Linked DNA regions of Homo sapiens: region 1 is linked to region 2. Evidence: promoter capture Hi-C in 16 types of primary human blood cells and fetal thymus (Javierre and others, 2016). All regions are on one chromosome and are shown on one strand. The core of a region is centred on a gene start or on the middle of the fragment in contact, and the rest is flanking DNA. Distances in the headings are between cores, read along the strand shown. Region 1 overlaps SHROOM3 (shroom family member 3). Region 2 holds the start of SEPTIN11 (septin 11).

Region 1 (5,790 bases), core at 2,978-5,477, 430 kb before region 2:
AGGTCCCTTGGTGGAACTTTCTACTGTCGGGTCTTTCATGATTCCCTATCAGAGGTTTTACATGTATGCTTTCGACTCTGAAAGGGAGACAATGCCAGCTAAACACAAGGAAAGCTGTTCAGGCTGAGTGTGGGAGAAGGGGAAGCTGGTTGCTGATTCTAATTCTGATGTTTGAGGGGAAAATAATATGTTTTTTTTTTTGAGACAGAGTCTTGCTCTGTTACCCATGCCAGCATGATATTGGCTCACTGCAACCTCTGCCTCCCAGGTTTAAGTGATTCTCATGCCTCAGCCTCCCGCGTAGCTGGGACTACAGGCACCTGCCACCACGCCCAGCTAATTTTTGTATTTTTAGTAGAGATGGGGTTTTACCATGTTGGTCAGGCTGGTCTTGAACTCCTGACCTCAGGTGACCCACCCGTCTCGGCCTTCCAAAGCACTGGGATTACAGGCATGAGCCACCGTGCCTGGCTGGAAAATAATACTTCTATCTCACTGATCACATTTACCGGTAGTATGCTTTAAGCAGGAAACAAGAACTGGGTAATTGCGGCAGAAAAGCCTTTAAAAGAAAATGACTTCATTGGCATTAGCAAACACCTACAGAGATAATATCTCTGACCTTAGCTGGCAGGCACTGAGAAAATTCTGAGGAATAGAGGGGGAGTCTGGAAGACTTGGGACTTTGATTTTTCTTATCCGGGTCAGACATTGATCTTTAAAAAATGACATACGTTTTATAGTCATTAACTTATCACTTAAAATGTTCTGCTGCTACAGTTCCTGGAGTAGGGGTAGAACCCTTCAGTTTATTGAGGACCAAAGACCTACATTAAAAGTAAATCAAAGCCTAAAGGGAAGCAAAAAGCAACTTAATTGACTTCAAAAATTTTTAAGCCGTTCACTGGTTTAAGTAAAAAATATGAAGCATAGTAACAATTTTCAGCCACTCTGGAAAACAGTTTGGAAGTTTCTCAAAAAGTTAAACATGGACTTACCATATGGCCAGGAATTGCACTGCTAGGTAAATACTCAAGAAAAATGAAAACATACATCCAAACAAATGTTCATAGTAGCATTATTCATGATAGCCAAAAAGTGGAGAAACCCACATTTTTGTTAACTGATGGTGAATACATTAAATGTGGTATATCAATATAATGGAATATTATTTAGCCATAAAAAAGAATGATGTACTGATACATGCTGCAATGTGGAGAAACCTTAAAAAACTGAAAGAAGGCAGACACCAAAGGCCACATATTGCATGATTCCACTCATATGAAATGCCCAGAACAGGCAAATCCATAGAAAAATAAAGTACTTCAGTGGCTGCCAGGGGCTGGTTTGGTATAGGGGAGAATGGAGTAGGACTGCGAGTGGATATGAGGTCTCTTTTGGGACGATGAAAATGTTCTGAAATTAGATAGTGGTCCTAGTTCCACAACTCTGTAAATACACTATAAGCCAATGAACTGTTCAATGAAAAAGGGTGAATTTTATAGTATGTGGATTTAATTTTATGATATGCGAATTACATCTCAATAATATATGAAGCGTGAAACTTTATTCAATAAATATATTAAACATTTAAAATATAATTCAATTAAAATTAAAAATGAAGTATAGGGAAGGAGAACAAGACAACGAGGAAAGATGGAAGAGAAAATACTTGGCTCAAGAAAGAAAATGAGCTGGGTGCAGTGGCTGACATCTGTAATCCCAGCACATTGTAAGGCCAAGGAGTTCAAGACCAGCCTGGGAAACATAGTGAGACCCATTTGTTAAAAAAGTTCAGATGTGGTGGCTCACACCTGTAATTCCAACACTTTGGGAGGCCAAGGTGGGTGGATCGCTTGAGGTCAGGAGTTCGAGACCAGTCTGGCCAATGTGGTGAAACCCCGTCTCTACTACAAATACAAAAATTAGCTGGGCATGGTGCTGGAAGCCTGTAATCCCAGCTACTTGGGAGGCTGAGGCAGGAGAATTGCTTGAACCCAAGAGGTAGAAGTTGCAGTGAGCTGAGATCACGCCTCTGCACTCCAGCCTGGGTGACAGAGCAAAACTCTGTCTAAAAAAAAAAAAAAAAAAAAAAATTAGCTGGATGTTGTGGCATGTGCCTGTAGTCCTAACTACTCAGGAGCCTGAGGCAGAAGGATCAGTTGAGTCCAGGAGGTTGAGGCTACAGTGAGCCAAGATGGTGCCACTGCATTCCAGCCTGGATGACATAATGAGAACTTGTCTGAAAAAAAAAAGGAAGGAAGGAAGAAAATGAAAACCAAACAAGAGAAGAGAGGCTGATTCCATGATTTTCAACACAATAGAAATTTCCATTGTTCTCTGAGATTCCCTTGGGCTCTGGTCTTCAGAATGTTATTGTTATTATTATTATTTCCTTTAGAACTTCTAATGAGCACATTGACCATTGCTTCCAGGTTTTCGAATTGTCCTTTGCCCTTAAACTCCTCAGTGGCTTGGGTTTTATTCCAATAGAGCAGAGGATATGAAATATTTCTTGGTTAATGTTTCTGGGTTTGCAGTATCAGTCAGTGACCAGAGTTGGATTTTACGTCTAAAAACCATATAAACTCAAGCCGAGACTTGTCTGGGTGTAGACTTCCCATTGCCAAATTTAATTTTATTATTTAAAGTCATGTTGAGAAGTCATGTAGGTGGTCTTTCTTCTAAGCTAGGACAGACTTATCAGTCTCACTTGCCTGGTACTACTTTATGAGGTAAATAATTAATTTGAGATATTAGGCATAAGCTGGTCTTGATCTGTTCTCAAACTCCAGGTGGGTAGAAAGCTCAACTGTTGACACAGGGCCTGGCATGGGAAATGATTACATGGGAAGCCATGTCTGATAACCAGAAATGATACTTCATAATAACACAAAGATAATGAGAGAGATTGGGAGTCAGGTTAGTGTGTGAAACTAGCAGTAGACCGAGAGGGAAAGTGGGTTGTGATCCTTCTTTGAAGTCACCACAGAGTCTTTCTGCTCCTTCACCCACTATGGTTAGTGAATGACCAAGGATACTGACTTTACCTCCTACTATTACTCAAATGTATATCTCTTCTCCGTCATTTCTCCTGTTCAGTTCCTCTTTCTCTCTAGCCTGGTCAATTGCAATATCTTTGTAACATGTTTTCTAGACTGTAATATTGCTCCTATTATCCATCCTTCCAACTAGGAAAGTAATATTCCTGAAGTCCAAATCATGCCATGTCCCTACCTTATTAGTTCTCTGTGTTGAGATCAGATGAAGCTATAGGCAGAGATGCTCTTATGACATGAAGGACTGGGGTTCCCTTGTAAGACCATCAGAATTTGCCCTATCTAAGCCCCTACTCAGGAGCCTAGAGGAATCCCTGAACTGAATGGTCTGAGTCAGCTGATACTCTCAGATAACAGCACTTTGCTCATAATATATGAAAACAGGAGCATGATTTAGAAAAAAAAAAGGAACCAAAATCACCAGCTAATAGATATTATGCAATAAGCACATTACAGAAACACAAAGTCCTGGTGTACATCACCAGGGCAGTCCCTGAGGACAGTCTAGCCAATAACTACACTTAAGTTGGGTCTCCAGATCTGATTTTCTAAGTTTCTGATCCTGGATCCTTTCATAAATTATAGCTGCTACCTCCAATCCCACCCCAAGTCTCATGAACAGGAAATCTGTGAAAAAGTTTTACAGGGAGGTTTGAGAACTCCCTCTGAGCTAGCCAATCCAGAGTCTTGCTTTCAGCCAAGCTTCCATCATACCCAGATTTTAATGATGAGTTATTTATGTTCTCACTTAAGGAAATCCTTTCCTACCCTTTGGAACTTCTATTTATCTTGTTATTAAAACTGTCTTCAAATAGATTTCCTGCTGCAATACAACACACTTGGTGACTTTCTCAGTCTTACAATGGGATTAGATATTTAGTGCTGAAAGGATCATTGCAAGGAGAGCAATCAGGTTTCTTCTCAGTGACAACTGCTTGGTCTTCTTTGCTGTAAAAGAACTTTGCTTTGAGCTTTGATACATGGAAAATGTCTGCCAGAGGCCCTGGTGAGAAAGAGTCCGTGTGTCTGCCCATCTTGGGTCATACCCTTGTCATCCAGGAACTAACAAGTCACCCCAGTTTACATGCAGTTGGCATTGGATGGGTGTAGGCAAATCACCTGGACTATCAAAGATACAGTGTCTAAAAAAGGCTCACTTCCTCCCTATCCCAGGTGGTAACACTGCATCGCAAGTACAGGGCATCCCAAATACAGAACATCCCTAACCCTGCATGCCCAGGGCACTGTTCTCAGCTCTGCTGGTCTGACCAGGTAGTTTCACAGAATTCTTGCTTGGTTAACTTGTAGTTTTTTGACATGATGTGCTAGATAGGTAAGATTTAGGATTCTTATCCATGTAAATGAAACTTAAAAAGAATTTCTCCTGATTGAGTTGCTTAGGGTTTTTGTTTGTTTGTTTGGTATATATATATATATATATAAAGGGGATGTTAGGGCTGTAGTCAGTGGCTGATTATTTGAAAATTTCTTCAACAATATGGGTTCTGTTCTGCTAATTCTCAGACCAATGAGGGCCTGTGTATGCTAGCAGAGAGAGGAAAAGACTAGGGTTTTCAGATTAGGACTCTGGGCCAGAATTTGTTACCATGTGACCTTGGACCACTCATTTAACCAAAGCTTCCCAGCCATTCCCCGTGGAAAGGAAGTGGATTGAATGACCTCCCGGTAGCCTCACCGGGATATTGCGGCTGCAGCAGAGCAAGGGCTGCATATAGAAGAGGAACATGAAGACTTTTTCCTTACAAAGTAAATGATATGAATTGACTGTGGTAAAGTTTCTAAATCAGATTTTTTTTAGTCCAGAGGGACAGCTTTTAAAATGAGAGATTTATTTAAGTTATAAGGAAATATCTGTCAACCCTCAGAAATTGCAAGATGATTATTTTGGTTGTGTGTGTGTATGTGTGTGTGTATTCCTAGTGGAGGGTGAGAGCTTGACTCTTAAGAATCATATAAAATATCAAATTATCTCAACTTCTGATAAATAGGGGGAAAGACAGACATTTTGGGGAGGTTCAAACCTCTATAATTCTTTAGGCATTTAACCCCCCAAGAGCAGGGACTACATTTATTCATTCGTAGTGTCCTCCACTCCATATCAGCATCTGGCACCTAATATGCACTCCATAAATCTTTGTTGTGGTTGAATGAGATCATTTTCCCCATGTCTTTGAAAGACAGAGGCAAAAACAGAGTGTTCTCATTAATGGACAGGGTTTTATTTCATTTTCTTTCCCCTCCCCCCTCCTTCCTTTTTGCCTGTCTGCCTGCCTGCCTTCCTTCCTTCCTTCTTTCCTTCCTTCCTACCTTCCTTCCTTCCTACCTTCTTCCTTCCTTCCTTCCTTCTTGCCTGCTTGCCTGCCTGCCTGCCTGCCTGTGTTAAATAATCTGAATGATTTCAAAGAATCAAAAATGGCTGTTCACATTTGGTAGGGTTCTACGGAGCTTATCTAACATATTTCTAAATGAGTACTGTAACACATCTGGGGCCAGGCACCCAAGCCTGTTCCTGTGTACTCTCTCATTTGCCTAGAAAACATAAATACTGATACAGGTCAGGGAAGCAAACTCTTGAGGGCTGTATTAAAATTCTTTTTATTGCAAGCGATGTAAACTCAATGAAGCAAAAAGAAGATATTTATTGAACCAGTACAAAAAGCGCAAGGGCATAGAGATTACATACCCTAGAGATCACTGGAAGTGGAACAAG
Region 2 (5,079 bases), core at 536-3,035:
AGCCACCGCGCCCGGCCCATTTATGTGTAATCTTAATTCAACACTTATTGAGCGCCTACTGTATGTTTGGCATAAAATGGTGGTCCCTAATTTCAAAAGATTTGGAGTCTAGAGGGCAGAAATTGAAGAGGTTGGTGCTCTGCACGTCTGAGTCCGCCCACAGACTGAATAAATAAGCTCTGCGTCGGCGCCCCTCACCTTTCTTTCATGGCCAGACTTTTCTCTGGCGGTTCCACAGCTGTCCTGACAGTGGAATTCAGACGGGGTGACCAAGCCCCTAGCCCACCTACCAGCGAAATCCAGCATCAGTTCCAGGGCAGCCGGACCCGCGCCCGGGGACGACTGACCCTTAGCCCAAGGCTGCGGGGGCGTCGGAGTCCTGAAGCGCAGGCGAGGCAGGGCCAGCGGGACAGGGAGACTCAAGGCCCCAGGGGATCTGGGCGTTTGAAGACTCAGGTCAGACTCTGAGGCGCCCGTCTAAAGAGACCGGTTGTCTTTTCCCTAATTCAGGAGGCCAGGCTGTCCCTTGGGGCGTCGTACCGAGGGCAGATCACAGCCCTTCCCTCCTCACCACACTCCCTGTGCTTCCACCCAGCTGGTTCCCCGCCCTGTCCATCGCTGTCCTCAATCGCTTGTTGTCGTGGGCCCCCCTCTCCGGCCCACGTGGGGCCGCAGGGATCCACAGCTCATCTGACACACCTCGCTGCCCTGCACGCACCGGGACCCCTCCATTCCGCCGGCCCCTCAGACACGCAGTAACACCCCAACATCTGCTGGGAAAAAAATCTTCCCCACGGCGGAGGAGTTCTCAGTCCCACGCGCCCAGAGTCGCACCCACTCGAGCCACCCGCCTGTTGCCGTCGCCACGCCCTCCAGCCGCAGCCCCAGCGCGCATTCCTACGGGTCGCCGGGTCTGTCGCCAGCGATCGAATGAAGTCGGCTGATCCCCCACGTGTGGCTGCTCCAGTGACACCCAGGGGAGGCCTCGGTCCTTACCCCTAGAGCAACCAATGGCTGCCTTAATTCTTCAGCGGGGGCGTTCTTTTTCTTCCTCCCAAGCAGGCGGCCGTTGGGTCGGCCGAAGGCAGCAGCGACTACTACGGCTCTTCCTCTCCAATGGGATCCCCTGTCTGCCCGCGCGCCACAGTGACAGCTTCCAGATGCCTGTCTTTAGTCTCCCTTCTCAAGGGAAGCGGTGGGCGACCGAGGTGCGGCCTGGAGGGCCCCCATGTGGGAAGGGAAGACTTGCGGAAGGGCAATTCTTCCAGTGCGGAGACGAGGAGGCCAGCCCAGCCGCACTTCGGTCGCCCACCGCTCCGCCTGGTGGTCCGCAGCCCCTTCCAGGCCGGCTTCTCCGGGTGGGGCGTGCTAGTCCGGGGCTAACTTTCCGCCACGTGCTGTCCCTGCGACCCGTCTCCCCCGGTCGCCCTTCCTTCTCCCGGCGGCCGCTGGAGCTGCCCGCTTCGTGGAGCCGGTGGCAGGCCCCGGGGCTGGGAGCTCGCGCCCAGGCTTTTACTCAGATTCCAGCACCTGATGGAGCAGGGGGTGGCGGCCAGCGCACAGGCTGTCGGCATCTCATGGCAGCGGAGACGGTCGTTTGGGGACGGAGGGGCGAGCCCCGCGGCCGGGGCCAGTGGAGCTGGGCTCGGAGCCCGCCCACCATCCTCCCGCCCACCACCGCGGCCGGGCGCGCAGGCTCACACCCCTTCCTGGGGAAGCGAATGGTCCCTTCCAGGCGGGTGGCCATGTTGCTCTAATAAAGCGGGAGGGGCGGCGGCGTGGGGGGAGCAGATGCCGCTGGCTGCCAGCGGGACGCCGGCGAGCAGAGCGCAGCCGCGAGGGAGGCGCGAGGGAGGCGAGCCGGAGCCCGAGCACTAGCAGCAGCCGGAGTCGGCGTAAAGCACCCGGGCGCAGCCGGAGCCGGTGCCGCAGCTGCGATGGCCGTGGCCGTGGGGAGACCGTCTGTGAGTGCTGGGGCCTCGCCTGCTGCTCCTCGGGCGCCGGGTGGTCTCTGCTCTGGGGCGGGTGCGGTGAGGACCACAGGGGAGCCGGGCGGGTGCTCGGCCCCGCGGCGGCGGCGACGGCTGTGGGTGTGTGCACGAATTTGGGCGCGCGTCTGGGGTCGGGGTTAGGAGCCCAGGGGCTCAGTTACGTGATGCAACAGTGGATCGCCTCGTCGCGCCCCTCTTCTGGGAATGCGAAAGAAAAAGGACCCCTCTCCTGTTCCCTTTAAAATAATTCTTTGAGGCGCGGCGTGTCTCAGCCGCCTCCCTCTGCCCGCGCACCTCTTCCCTCGTGACAGCCAGAAGGGCGCCGGGTTCGGGGCTTTCCTCCAGTCTCCCCCGCGCCGAGGGGGCGCTCAGGGCATGGGAATTGCGAGCTGAAGTGCTGCGTGTGGCACTGCTGTAGAAGCAGGTCAGAGGGGTGGGATTTCCGTGGTGGCCTCCCCAGCGCATTGTGAGATCCCGGACACCCTCGGGCATCCACCCGGCTGAGCGGGCCCTGCCCAGGATGTGGACAAAGCCCCAGATAACACACACAAAGTTTTCTGGAGGCTCCCTTGTGGTGTGGGTGGAAGGACTGAAATGTTCTGCGGCTGAAAGGCCGGGGGCGGCGGGCTGAGGAGGCTGGGACGCGAGGAAGAGGAAGGGCGGGCGGGTGCGTGAAGAATCGAGTGCCCCACGGCGGGAGGGAGGAGAGTAGGAGGGAGGAGATACCTTTGCCCCGAGTGTGTGGGCCAAGGCGCCGCGCCTACTGGGTTGCAAGACTCGGTCCGCGCCCCGGGGCCGGGCCGGAGGGGAGCGGGACTCCGAGGGTGCGGTTCAGTGGCCGCTCCGCATCCCCAAGTGAAAGGCGGAGGAAGGGGCGGCGGCGGCCTTTCCTTTTTTTTGAAAGGAGCGGAGCTGGGTGGGAAAGGCGGAGTCCTCCTGTTTTCCCTTTCCCCTTTTCATCGTCGATGTTCACAGTCCACTCGCCTTACTGGCTTTGGGGGCGCCTCGGGCGATGTCTTTCCCTGTCTATCACCTCCTCTTCCCTTTTTCTTCTTCCCTTTCCCACAGCTGTGCAGCTGCAGGTGGTGGCTCGGGAGATTTTGTAGTTACAGACGAAAGACTTACTGAGATACTGGAAGCTCGGAAATCCCAGAAATGCAAGGCTGTGCTCTCAGGCTCCCGGCTCTTCCCCCTCTCCCCGCCTAACTCCTCCCCAGATACGCGCGCCTTTTGCACCCTACCCCCTCGGGAGAAGTTCATGGGTCCCTTTGCGGATTCTAATTCGATTTGGTGGTTCGGCTGCCCGCGGTGCTTTCAAAGACGTTTTCTGCAGTCAGAAAACACAGCGGTCATATCGAATCATGACTGTCTTTTAGGCCTTTTCAACTCTACGATTTAATGACATGGCTCTTTTAAGAATTCTGGTCTTCTTTTGCACATAAATTGTGCTCTTGATAATTAGTGGTCACATGTAGGTTATTGTTACTGAGGGAATTTGCATAGTCTCTGGGCTAGTCGTTTTATTTTTGGTGAGAAAATTGAGGTCTATAGAGGTGAAATTTATCTGGTTAAATTACTCCTCCCCCTGCCCCCCATTATACTTATTAGCAGGCATAGATTCAGAGAACTAAAATAACAATATCTGCTTTAGATAAATTGGCAAACGTTTAGGATTGCAAATATTCAGTGGGGGTGTTTGGCTTTTTCAGTAACACGTATTATTGCTGGTGCATTCTTGAGGGATGGAGGAGGTGGAAGAAATAATTAGCTGCACATTTTCTATAAATTAGTTCATATATGTCAGTTAAATAGGAACAGTATGTGGATTTAAGGTTTAGTTGTGTGGCCGTAATCACATCCAACACCAAGTCGGCCAACCATATGTGAGCTTAATCCCACAGAATTCTTATGTTAGACCTCCCTCTTCAGATAATAGAGGAGATTTTTTTTAAGTATACGTGCACAGAGGAAGTGACTTCTTTCTGCGCACTCTGTTGTCACTGGAATTAAAATTAAATTACAATCTAAAGACAGAAGACTTTTCTTTTGGAAACCTAATGTACGAGTGATTAGGAATTGACTATAAAGTTAGAAAGTCTACAGAAAATATGTGATCACATTTCACAGATAATTGTTGAATCCTTTCACTTTGTTCATTGGGCTATTGTCTTAAGTGTGGTCTCTGCAGTTATGGCTTTAAAACAAAGTCAATGAATGGGGAAGACTCTTGAGACACAGCTCCATGGAATCTACACTGCACCTTTAAAGTTAAGAGTTCTCTGGCCCTCCCATTTCTTATCTAGTCTGTGATTTCACCAAAAGAAAGGAAGGGTGCGCTGAGGGAAAAGAACCACTCCGAAGTTGATTTATGTGTGAATGGAATTTCCCTAGGTATTTAATTAGATTTTTTAAAAAGTTATTTAGGACATATATCTCCTTTTGCGATAACTACCTCTCCCCGCCAGACTGAAGAAAAATGCAATCTGAATAACTTACCCTAAATTTTTGATATTCTTGAATGGGAACATCTGAGTGTGATATCCCAGGTAAATATGACATTTTAGTGGGCAAAAATGCTTACATGTCAAATGCACTATTTTCTATCTTATGAAATGGTTATATTCTGTTACAAACCATTCAAACCTCAAGGCTAAATTCAGGTAAGTTTCTTAAGTGGATTTGTTGTTGACTGCAAAACAAAGCTTCAATTTAGTGTGATACTGTTTATTTCAGTTTTAATTTTGATCCCTAGCTTCTCCATTTCCCCACTGATGGTTTTTGGGCTTAGCCCTAAGAAGACCCTGAAGCACATCTGCTGTTTGCCTAGTATAACTGATGATTAGCAAGAACATTTTACTCCCAAGGGATGTGTCTGCATTTTGGATGAATTAGCATTTTTGCGTCCAAATCCCGGGGCAGCTATTATCTTTATTTTAAACAGAACATGGCAATTTACTCTACTTGGGAATCAGGCTTTATGTAGCTGATGGCCTCTCCTAAGCTGTGGTGTTCATCAGTTTAAAAACTCTAGGAGTTGAAAGGAACGTTAGAGGTCATTTGGGTTAGCCTGCTCCCCAGTGCAGAAATA

Evidence for each region. Contacts are between HindIII fragments. The CHiCAGO score rates a contact against its expected background, and 5 or more counts as called.
Region 1: a fragment that was not itself captured here is called in contact with the fragment with the promoter of SEPTIN11 in region 2 in 5 of 17 cell types (M2 macrophages, endothelial precursors, M1 macrophages and 2 more); the score reaches 9.3 in M2 macrophages.

The regions. Positions count from the first base shown.
Region 1 is chr4:76,513,141-76,518,930 of GRCh38, forward strand. All of the region lies in intron 1 of SHROOM3 (shroom family member 3), which reads left to right. Among named protein-coding and RNA genes, the nearest start is that of MIR4450, 58 kb to the right of the region's middle. The HindIII fragment of the contact is 936 bases long and covers 3,760-4,695 here.
Region 2 is chr4:76,947,967-76,953,045 of GRCh38, forward strand. SEPTIN11 (septin 11) reads left to right here and starts at 1,786. Exons shown (of 10, transcript NM_018243.4): 1 at 1,786-1,964. The coding sequence starts at 1,938. LOC105377294 (a long non-coding RNA gene) reads right to left here and starts at 1,599. Exons shown (of 3, transcript XR_001741739.2): 1 at 997-1,599. RefSeq lists an enhancer at 571-650 and silencers at 1,561-1,740, 1,771-2,080. The HindIII fragment of the contact is 7,046 bases long and covers 1-4,691 here.